Linked DNA regions of Homo sapiens: all the other regions are linked to region 1. The links are contacts of gene promoters, found by promoter capture Hi-C in blood cells and fetal thymus (Javierre and others, 2016). All regions are on one chromosome and are shown on one strand. The core of a region is centred on a gene start or on the middle of the fragment in contact, and the rest is flanking DNA. Distances in the headings are between cores, read along the strand shown. Region 1 holds the start of TMEM39B (transmembrane protein 39B). Region 2 holds the start of BSDC1 (BSD domain containing 1). Region 3 overlaps BSDC1 (BSD domain containing 1).

What was found. Contacts are between HindIII fragments. The CHiCAGO score rates a contact against its expected background, and 5 or more counts as called.
Region 2: a fragment that was not itself captured here is called in contact with the fragment with the promoter of TMEM39B in region 1 in 6 of 17 cell types (non-activated CD4 T cells, total CD4 T cells, activated CD4 T cells and 3 more); the score reaches 6.3 in non-activated CD4 T cells.
Region 3: a fragment that was not itself captured here is called in contact with the fragment with the promoter of TMEM39B in region 1 in 2 of 17 cell types (non-activated CD4 T cells and naive CD4 T cells); the score reaches 5.5 in non-activated CD4 T cells.

The regions. Positions count from the first base shown.
Region 1 is chr1:32,071,378-32,075,042 of GRCh38, forward strand. It overlaps TMEM39B (transmembrane protein 39B), which reads left to right and starts at 1,562. Exons shown (of 9, transcript NM_018056.4): 1 at 1,562-1,674; 2 at 3,574-3,665. The coding sequence starts at 1,671. RefSeq lists an enhancer at 961-1,566. The HindIII fragment of the contact is 11,018 bases long and covers 1-3,665 here.
Region 2 is chr1:32,392,166-32,395,830 of GRCh38, forward strand. It overlaps BSDC1 (BSD domain containing 1), which reads right to left and starts at 2,276. Exons shown (of 11, transcript NM_018045.8): 1 at 2,239-2,276; 2 at 1,915-1,975. The coding sequence starts at 2,249. RefSeq lists enhancers at 1,317-2,014, 2,002-2,291, 2,015-2,710, 2,582-2,661, 3,409-3,665. The HindIII fragment of the contact is 1,550 bases long and covers 952-2,501 here.
Region 3 is chr1:32,371,069-32,374,733 of GRCh38, forward strand. All of the region lies in intron 9 of BSDC1 (BSD domain containing 1), which reads right to left. Among named protein-coding and RNA genes, the nearest start is that of TSSK3, 10 kb to the left of the region's middle. The HindIII fragment of the contact is 4,388 bases long and covers 1-3,665 here.

The DNA of each region.
Region 1 (3,665 bases), core at 312-2,811:
CTGTAATCCCAGCATTTTGGGAGGTCGAGGTGGGTGGATGATTTGAGGTCAGGAGTTTGAGACCAGCCTGGCCAACATGGTGAAACCCCGCCTCTCCTAAAAATGGAAAAATTAGCCGGGCATGCTGGCGGGTGCCTGTAATCCCAGCTACTTGGGAGGCTGAGACAGGAGAATCGCTTGAACCCGGGAAGCGGAGGTTGCAGTGAGCCGAGATCGTACCACTGCACTCCAGCCTGGGCAACAGAAAGGGAGACTCCAGTCTCAAAAAAACAAAACAAAACAAAAACAAAAATTAGCCGGGCATGGTGGTGCACGCCTGTAATTTCAGCTTGTTGGGAGGCTGAGGCAGGAGAATCGCTTGCACCCAGCAGGTGGAGGTTGCAGTGAGCCGAGATCGAGCCACTGCTCTCCAGCCTGGGCAACAGAGACTCCATCCCCTCAAAAAACAAAATAATAAAATAAATACACCCTCCTGCCTGAGGGACCTTGCACTAACTATTCCCTCTGCCTGAAATGCCCCCTTTCTCCAGAAATCTGCACCACTGACTCACTCATTTCCTTCATGTGTTTACTCAAGTCAACTCTGAAGCCTGCTCTGCCTGCCCTATTTAAAACTGCAACCCCATCCCCCTTTCCTGTTTTTCCTTCACACCATTCCCATCTAACATACTACAGAATTTACCAATTTTGTTCATGTCTATCTCCTCCCACTTGACTGTAAGCTCTATGACTATTAATGAAATATCTACTAATTCATTCAATTAATTGAATACTGCTATTAAGTGCCAAGCACTGTGCTAAGCAATGGAGCTACAAGATGACTAAAACTGCTTGTAGGTCTTGTGAGGGAAGAATCCTAATGACAATAAATGTAGCTCATTTAGTCAATGCTTCTCCAAACATCGTGATGGCTAATACTAAAACAGACTCAGTTCTGCATGCTCTATTTCATTTAACCCTCACCGAAACCTACACGGTGACCATCAGCAGCCTCATCGTAAAGCATAAAAAAACAAGATTGCAAGGCTGGGAAATGGCAGTCAGGATCTGAACCACGGTGTTGACAATGAGAACGGTGAGTAACGTCAAATGTGAGAAATATTTAGGACTTAGGCTCACAAAGACTAAGGCAAAGATCGGATGTGGGGGCCGAGGGAGGGAGGAAATGACTCCTGGATTTTGACTGGGGTGGACTAAAGCGCAGTGAGGCCTAAGAGAAGGATGAAGCGCAACGTGGGGCTGGGCTGGAGGTGCCTGCGGACCGGTCAGGGATATGGTCCACCCCTAGGGGAGCGGAGAGGCGGCTCCGCACCCTCCTCCGGTCGCCGCCGCCCCGGTCCAGGAGATGCTGAGAGAAGACACGCACGGGAAGAGCAGGAGGTGGGTTCCGTTCCCCTCCCTCTTGAGTCTCTTCACCAGCAGCTGCAGGAAGGGCGTGGGGGACCGAGAGACAAAGAGCGCGCAGGCACCGCCTCCGTCCGGGCGGCCCCTTTAAGAAGCGCGCGCCAGCTTCCAGCCCGCCTTGTATGCAAATGTAGCGGCGCGGCGGGAGCGCGCGGCTGATACCCGGGACTGGGCTGCGGCGGTTAGTCCTCTCCCGGCCGCCGTCGCCTCCGACATATTGCCCGCAGGAGCTGCGGCGGCGAAGCGGAGAGCACCGGGGGGAGGAGATGGGTGAGCAGAGCGGCTCAGGCTCGGCCTGGCAACGAGCGGGCGCACGGGTTAGGATGGCCAGGCTGCTAATTGCTGCTCCACGCGGACAGGAGCCCGGTGACGGGAGGGGGAGGGGATGCGAGCGCAGACGGGATCCCGCCCCCTCCTGTCGTTTTGCGGGGTGGGGCCTCTGTTGTGGGGGCGGGACATTGGACGGTGGGCGGGGCTTCTAAGACGAAGCCCTGTGGGGGCTTGGGCTTTCGTGAGGACCAGCTCGTCGGGGCTAGAAAGGGGGGCGGGACTTACCAGTGGGCGTGGCTTCAGCGCTAAGGGTGGAGATTCTGGGCAGGGGGCGCTAGTGCAGTCGGCGTTTCTGGGTTGGAGGGGTTACACTGGGGGCGGTGGAGCGGGGAGACTTCCGACTGAGGGAGCCCATTCTGGAGTGGGGCTTCTGGGCTGAGAGGGCTTTTATTGGCTTGTGGGCGGGGTTTCTGGGCTGACAGTTGTGTGTAGGCGGAGCTTCTGGGCTGAGGGGCTTTATGTGGGTGCAGAGCTTCTAAAGAGAGGAGAGTGGGTGTGGGCAGAGCTTCTGGACTGGACTAAGGGTGTTTGTGTGGGATTTTCTAAGCCAAGTATAACAGCGTATGAACAGAGCTTCTGGTCTGGGGGTTTATGGAGGGCAGAGCTCTTCGCCAGGTACTTTTTAGAGACTTGTGGAGGTTTATAATTTTGGGCATACATCCAAGCCCAAAATTGGCTCCGAAGTGTGGGAAACGCTTCCGAGCTGAGATGCTACGGCGTGGGGTGTATGTGAATGGAGGCTGCTGTGTTACTGTGAAGAGGTATGAACAGGTTATAACTTTTTAAAAATATGTATATGTATGTATATATATTTTTTAATAGAGACCGGGTTTCGCCATGTTGCCCAGGCTGGTCTCCAACTCCTGGTCTCAAGCGATCCTCCCGCCTCGGCCTCACAAATTGCTGAGATTACAGTCGTGAGCCACCACACCCAGTCAGGTTGTGACTTTTTTAGGTGCTTAGGAGCTTTGTGCAGAACTTTTGTGCGAAGTGGTGCGTGGGAGCTTGGGCTAGACTGCTCAGCCTAGTAGGTCCAATTTTTCAGTCCACAGCCACAGGATTCTCCCAGCCATATCCTTGACCCTTTATTTAGGCCCTGGGTCCTGCCCATGAGATCCCAGAATGCCCTTTGAGCTGAATCATGGGGCCCTGGATGAAAAAGCTGTCCCAAAGTTACCCAGAGTTATAGGCCTCCAGAAACTTATGTCTGAATGGGGCCCAATGTGTACCAGAGTTGAGAGCACACGACCCAGCCACGATACTGTGACATAGTGTAAGCTGAGTTTCCTAATGTGTGAAAAACCTACCTTGCTGGGTTCATTCACTCATCAACATATACTTGCTGGGCACTGAGGTAGGGGATATAGCAGTGAAAAAGATAAGGTAACTGACCTCATTGACCTTTCATTGTAATAGGACAGACAAGCAATAAGCATATTAACAAATGAGTAAGATAATTTCAGAGAGTGAATTCTGGTGGAAAAAAAGAATAGAAATTGGAGAGAGAGTGATGGGGAGTTACTTCAAAACTTCAGAAATGGCAGTCCGGGAAAGGCTTTCCAGATAGGATATTATAAGTGCTAGAGGTAGCAATGAGCTTGGCTTGCTGAGGAAAGAAAGATCAAGATGTTTAGAGCATGGGGCGGGTGGTAGAGGGTGGGTGTGAGGTAGAGAATGATAGGGGATGAAGCTGAAGATGTAAGAAGGGGCCAGATCATAGGTCTCAGTGAGGATTAAATGATAAAGTGAGATACTAGGTGACTGGCAGCTGGTATCATTGCTGTTATCCTTGATATATGCCCCCTGGCTTGAGGCTCTATTTTATGTTGAGCCCCACAGGAGGACGAAGAGGTCCCAACAGGACATCTTACTGTCGAAATCCGCTCTGTGAGCCGGGATCCTCGGGGGGCTCTAGTGGAAGCCACACTTCC
Region 2 (3,665 bases), core at 477-2,976, 320 kb after region 1:
TATTGAAAATAGAAAAATTAGCTGGGCGTGGTGGCACATGCCTGTAATCCCAGCTACTCAGGAGGCCGAGGCAGGAGAATCACTTGAACTCAGGAGGCGGAAGTTGCAGAGCTGAGACTGAGCCACTGCACTCCAGCCTGGTAACAGAGCCAGACTTGGTCTCAAAAACAAACAAACAAAAAACAAAAAACACTTGCCCAAGTACATATAAGAGTAAGAAAGTAAAAAAAGGGAAATTACGTCTTTTCTTTCCAAAAAGGCATAAACAACTCCCACCTCCACCCCCACCCCAGCTTTTAACTGGGAATTCCAAGAATGAAGACGGAAGGTTGGCCAACTATCTATTTTTCATAAGTTATGATAAGACCAACCTTGAGACAAACACAGGAGGCCCTCATGCAACATCTGCTGAATGAATGTCAGACTTTCCTGCCAGGAAATTACCCAACAGGAAATATGCTACTATCGGGTCTCTTCTATCAAATGTTAGGGTGCAAGCCTCTCAGTCCTCATCAACAACATAAACAGCTCAGGGCATTCTCAGATTTGCTGGGCTATTGCTGAGAGGCTGTCCAGGAGTACCCAGGATAAGGGAGGAATAAAAACGCTCCCAGATGTCTGGGTGTGGTGGCTCACGCCTATAATCCCAGCACTTTGGGAAGCTGAGGCAGGTGGCTCACCTGAGGTGAGGAGTTCGAGACCAGTCTGGCCAACATGGTGAAACCCTGTCTCTACTAAAAATACAAAAATTAGCCAGGAGTAGTGGCACATGCCTGTAATCCCAGCTACTCGGGAGGCTGAGGCACAAGAATCACTTCAATCTGGGAGGCAGAGGTTGCAGCGAGCTGAGACCGCACCTGTGCACTCCAGCCTAGGTGACAGAGTGAGACTCTGTCTCAAAACAAAACAAAAATACTCCCAGAGTAGAGGACTTATTTAGGTGAGGTCAGAAGCTTCCTGGAGTTGGCCCTGAAGCAGGACTCATCCCAATTGCTTGAGGTAAATAGTAATCAACTTTTCCCACAATTCAGTTGGGCTGATTTTGACAAATAAGCATGAAATGAAACAGGAATACACATTGGCAAATTACCCACTGGCACAGCCAAATATCACTCATCCCACAGAGATTGTTCAGCAAGAAGGCCTTCCACTCTCTGGTGATTAATCTCTCTCTCTCTACTGCCCGTTGCATAGCCCCTACTTAGAACTCATCAGGCACCAGTGTGTATGGCTCATGCTCATCTCTGGCTTGGGTTCTTGCTTTTCATCCTGTCTAGGCAGGGTTGCCCTTGATGAGGTTCCTTCTCCACAGGGGCCTTCCCTGGTGAGTTACTGACTAACCAGAACAGACAAGGTGCCCCTGTACTTTCCTTTCACAGAACTTACCACAACGGTAACTAAACAACTATTTGTTTGGCTACTCGGTTAATGGCTGTCTCTCCACTAGACTGTGAGCTTTGTAAGGCCCAGGATTACATCTGTTTGGCTGAAGTCTGTATCCTCAAGACCTATCAGAGTGCTGGTTGTCGCATATACTCTAATATTTGAATGACTATACGAGTAAGTTTTTTTACTGCTAGAATCTTTTCCTTCAAGACCTGTATCAAATGCTCTCTCTTTCACGAAGAAACTGAATTTCCTGAGCTGGAATAAATTGCTCCTTCCTATGGATTCCTACAAAACGTTCGTTAACTCCAGCCTTTAAAACCATCTTTATTTCACTGTGGCTAGTATCACACTGGTTTGCGTCGAGGTCTGTCTTCCCGTGGACCGGTAGAGGCTAAAAGAAAGGCCCAGGTCAGCCTCATCCTTGAGACTTAGCGCCCGCAAAAGTTGGGCGGGGCTGGTTGGACCAGGTTGCATTGAGGCGGCGCAGGGCCCTGCTGAGGGAAGAAGGGCACGGGCCCGGCTTACCTTCTCTTTGACTGCTTGGTAGCTCTGCTGCAGCCAGCTCCGCCACCATCCCACGTCCTCCCTGTGGAAGACAGACACATCTGGCAGCACCGCGGTGCGATTCCTGCCCGCCCAAGGATCCGGTTTGTTCCCCGCTCAGATGTACCCTGCGGGCCGAGGCTTCGCAGACCGCTTGCCCACCCCCTCACAATGCGACTCCACTCTGCCCTTTCAGATCAGTCCACGCCCCCGCTGATCTCACGTTCCCCACCGGGACTCTCGCCCAGCACCCCAACCCTGGGAGAATTCAGGCCCCAACGCCTAGGAGCAAAACGACAAGCTCACCCTTCCGCCATCTTGCCTGCATGACATCACCACTATTTACTGACCTTTGACTTCCGACACGGCACCGCCCCCTCAAGGACCGCCCCCGAGGCGCTCGGCCCAATCCTCGCGCCGGCACCGCCCTCAGCCCAATCCCCTCCCTGCGCCATCATTAGGTCCCGCCTCCCTGAACTCTATCCAGTCTCTGTCCCGAGTTCGCCCTCAAACTCCGCCCCTGAACTCTCAGTTCAATCGTCATTCAGTCCTGTCCTCAGGCTCCACCAAGCTTGACTCTTTGTCACTGTCCGCAAACGTCGGGTACGGTGGCCTCTATGGACGATGATCAGCCGACAAGCTGGACTGCGGAGAGCTGGGAGCAGAGGGGAGGAGGAGAGATAGCTCGAACGTCAGGATCCCAGAGCGCAGGGTTAGGACCGCCCCCCTTTGTGAAACCAGCTGCGTAGAGGCTGCTTTGTGTCTCTTTGGGCTAATTCAATAAGCCCATATTGCGGGGCTGTGGCCCAGAGTTTGGAGGAATGTGAATAATTCAGAGGCGACTTAGATGCAGCCTTTGGAGGGCTTACGGGTTAATGGGAGACACACACATTCAGTAATCTCAACTTTCGGTGGCCCAGCTCAGAACAACGCCAGGTGGAGGTGGTCTGGAGAAATCCGGAGACCGCCTGGATTGAGTTCTACTGCGATTGGAAGGGAGATTCCACAGCCCACATACTTTGGACTTTAATTAAGGTCAGCCCCTCCACGTGTGCGGTAGATCCCATCGCCTCTTGTTTGCTTAAGGACATAGATCTAGTAATCCCCCCTTCATCTCTTTTCCCTCTGATGACTGCATTTATCCTTGTCATCATCCGTACTGCTGTTTCTCCCATCTCAAAGGCAAACAAAAACCAGCCCTCTCTATATCCCTCACCGTTTCCCTACTCCCCTTTACAGCAAAAGCGTTGCCTACTCACAGTCTGCAACTCCCCTCTCCTCCCATTCTCTCTTGAACTCACTGCAGTTAGGTTTTTGCCTCTCAGACAATCCTTTGAAATAACTTTCTTTTATTTATTTAATTTTATTTAATTTTATTTATTTTATATTTATTTGTAGCTCTGCTGCAGCCAGCTCCGCCACCATCCCACGTCCTCCCTGTGGAAGACGGACACATCTATTTTATTTATTTATTTATTTTTGGTCCTCCCTGTGGAAGACGGAAACATCTATTTTATTTATTTATTTATTTTGAGTCAGAGTCTTGCTCTGTTGCCCGGGCTGGAGTGTAGTGGTGCAATCTCAGCTCGCTGCAACCTCTGCCTCCCGGGTTCAAGCGATTCTCCTGCCTCAGCCTCCCGAGTATCTGGGATTACAGTTGTGCACCACCATGCCCGACTAATTTTTGTATGTTTAGTAGAGATGGGGTTTCACTATGTTGGCCAGGCTTGTCT
Region 3 (3,665 bases), core at 841-3,340, 300 kb after region 1:
TAAAAAGATATATATAAAAGTTATTACTAAGAAGTAAACTACACAAATAGTTCCTTTCAATAAAGCATGTACAGTAAGATTCCAGCTTTAAAATGTGCCCATAGATGCATGCACACATGCAGAAGAGATGAGCAAGATATCCAAATACACTAGCAAAGTTATCTCTAGGTGATGAGTTCATGAGGTGATTTTCCTTAATTTTTTTCCTAAAATGAACACATACGACTTTGTAATCTTTTTTTTTTTTTTTTTTTTTTTATTTGAGATGGAGTCTCACTCTCGCCCAGGCTGGAGTGCAGTGGCACAATCTCGGCTCACTGCAAGCTCTGCCTCCTGGGTTCACACCATTCTCCTGCCTCAGCCTCCTGAGTAGCTGGGACTACAGGCGCCCGCCACCACGCCCGGCTAATTTTTTATATTTTTAGTAGAGATGGGGTTTCACCGTGTTAGCCAGGATGGTCTCGATCTCCTGACCTCGTGATCTGCCCGCCTCGGCTTCCCAAAGTGCTGAGATTACAAGCGTGAGCCACCGCACCCAGCCTGTAGTCTTTTTTTTTAAGTACCTTTAAAAAGAGTGGGTCCCTGATCCTCCAACGGCATGACCAGTAAACATCTCCGTTTCTTCTTCTCCGACCTACTCCTCACCAGATGCCTCCGCGCTGAGACCTACCCCTCAGCCCCGCTCCCACATTCCTTCTATGGTATCCTGCATCATCCTCTCTTCTAGCCAGAGCATGGTCTCTGGGGCCAGGCAGACCTGGGTTGAATACCTACTCCTTTACTGTGTAGTCTTGGGCAAATTATTGTTGGCTTCAGTCTATTTATAAAATATGGATAAAAGCAACCTCTGCAAAGAACCACTGGAGAAGCGTATTAAAATACAGACTCCTACCCTGCCCACCCCCAGTCCCAACTAAGACTCAGCAGGTCTAGCTGGTGGCTGGGAAGGCTGCATTATAAGCAGGTACCTGTGTGTTCTGTGTAGACCTGGCCCTGCCGTTTGAGAAACAATGGTGTTAGAATTAGAGGTATGAATGTAAAGTGCCTATTACATACATACACATGGCTATGTAATGAATGGTGCTGCCTTTCTTCTAAGGGCCTTGTCTCAGAGTTATGTCATTCTGTACACGGTACCTCAGGAAGTCAGGGCAGCCAAGACCCAGCTCTTCTGACTCTGCACCTACATCCCTCTGTGCCTTCAGGACACTTAGGTGACATTCATCTGGCTGTCACCACAGGCTTCCTGTGGGTTAGCCAGACTCTTCGCTGCTTCCTCACTTCAGGGCTTTGGTTGTGGCCATGACAGCTTTCCCTAACCTCAGGTTGCCCTCTAGGGACTTGAAACTGTCTCTTCAGGCTTAAATGCTATGGCAGAACCTTTCAGGGGTAGAGAACAGAGTATCCACTAACATTTCTGGAATATTCCACATCTAGCTCTTGGGTGGGTATTAACAGTCCCAGTATACGGATGAGGAAATGAAGGCTTCAGGTGGTGCAGGGAGCTGTGAAGCTGGGTTCTCTCTGCCATCTGCCTCCTTCCACCGTCCTACCCTGTCACACAAGGAGAGCACTAAGATCTCCATTACAATGTGCATGTGGCAGAGAGGTGGCCTATGCTACAATTTAAGACTTCAGAATGGAGTTCTACTGGTTTGGTTTTGAAAATGGAAGTTTTCGGGTGATTGCTAACTTTGTAGTGCTGTCACTCACAGCTCATTTTATTCTGTTTAATCGGCTCTCTGCTTCCCCAGTTAAGAAATAGAGGCAAAACTGCTCTTAGGTCACACGGTCATGAAGTGAGGTCTTAACCTCCAGGCTCCTTCCAGGCCACAGGCCTGCCCCAATCTCTCCTCCCCTTCTCTGCAGAAAGAAGTCCAGTCTCTCAGAACAGACGAATGCTGTGACAAAACATAGGTGGAAAGCAGCTCTGCGATGACAGGGATCACCCTGGGAACCAGTAAAACCCTTTGGCTAGGGTACCCCAAGAGACTCTGCTATACCCAGAGACCAAGCCTTATGTCACCCTAGGACTTGGGCCCAACAGGAAAAAGGAGTCACTTTGTCTCCAAGCCCCCATTCTTCTTTTTATTTCTTCTACTCTGTTCCCACTGTTCCAGCCTAGTCCAAGACTCTGGCTTCCTCCCACCTGACTACGGTTGTTTCTTGTGAGTCTTCTATAGCACATCCTCAGCCTCTCCTTTCACAGGCCCTGAGGGCAGCAGAGGCAGCATAGCAGAGTAGTTAAGAGCTTATGTTTACCTCTCCTGTAATTTCAATTCCATCCAGTCTCCAACCACTACTGATTTTTTCTGATCACCCTTTGTAGCCCAATTCCAAATGAAACCTATAATTTGTAACCCTCCAACTGTTTCACTATCCCTCATTCTCTCCCGTACTCAGCTCAGATTCCATGAGGCATCATTCTTATCACTTCTTGCATATACTTTCTTTTCTTTCCTATTTTTTTGAGACAGGGTCTCAGCTCTGTCACCCAGGCTGGAGGGCAGTGCAGCAATCTCAACTCACTGCAGCCTCAACCTCCCCACTCAGGTGATCCTCCCACCTCAGCCTCCCGAGTAGCTGGGACTACAGGCACGTGCCACCACATCTGGCTAATTTTTTGTATTTTCTGTAGAGATGGGGTTTCATCACAATGCCAGGGCTGGTCTTAAACTCCTGGGCTCAAGCGATCCACCTGCCTCAGCCTCCCTTAAGTACTGCAATTATAGGTGTGAGCCACTGTGCCCAGCGGACTTTCTTCTTTTCATCAACTGATTTTACCTGGCTAAACTTGAACCTAATTAGATCCAACTCCCCATCTGCTCTGTTCCTGCACCTGAGCAACTGAATATGGCTGAACAAAAATACAACATGTTGATGGTCTCACTTAAAACCTACAATCACAACCTCAGTGGGCCCTGGGACCATCCACCCAGCAACCCTATTACACCTGTCAGGCCCACCACCTACTCCTCCCTCTTCTACAGGACTATTTCACACTGAAATATTTACTGGGTGGGTCACTGATCTCAGGTTCCTACCACTAGAAATATGAGAAAAAGTACACAGATCTCACAGGGCTTTTGTAAGGATTGAGTAATATGCATATTACTGTGCATATGCATCTGTGCTTAGCACAGATCTAGACACAGAGAAAGTGCTCAGAGAATGTTACCTCTATTTTCATTTCCCCAAAGCAGGGCTCTACTTAATTCTGCTCTGACTGAGGATCTATCATGAAACAATTATCCCGTTTATGGAGGAGCAAACAAAGGCTTAGAGAAGATTAGTAATCTTTCTGAAGTCACATGACTTATGAACAAAGTTGGGATTTGAACCCAGAACTGTCTGAACTCCAGAACCCACAGCCTTAGCATCCATGCTCTGCTGCTTTATGGCCCCAAGGCCAACCTTCTGAATCCAGCTTAAGGTTTTAAATTCTGAAGTTCTATTTCTGAGTCAACCCACTCACCCTTCTTGTACCTCCTTCTCCTGGGAGAGAATACAGAAGAGTGGGTTTAGGTCACCGCGCCTTAAACATGCCCCATGCCCTTTGCTAGCTAGTCTTTGTAGGCCTCCTCAGCTTAGACTACCACTCCCCTGCACCTGCCCCAAACTCACCAACTCTCCTATACGAGGCTTGTCTCCTCAGTGAAGCACCG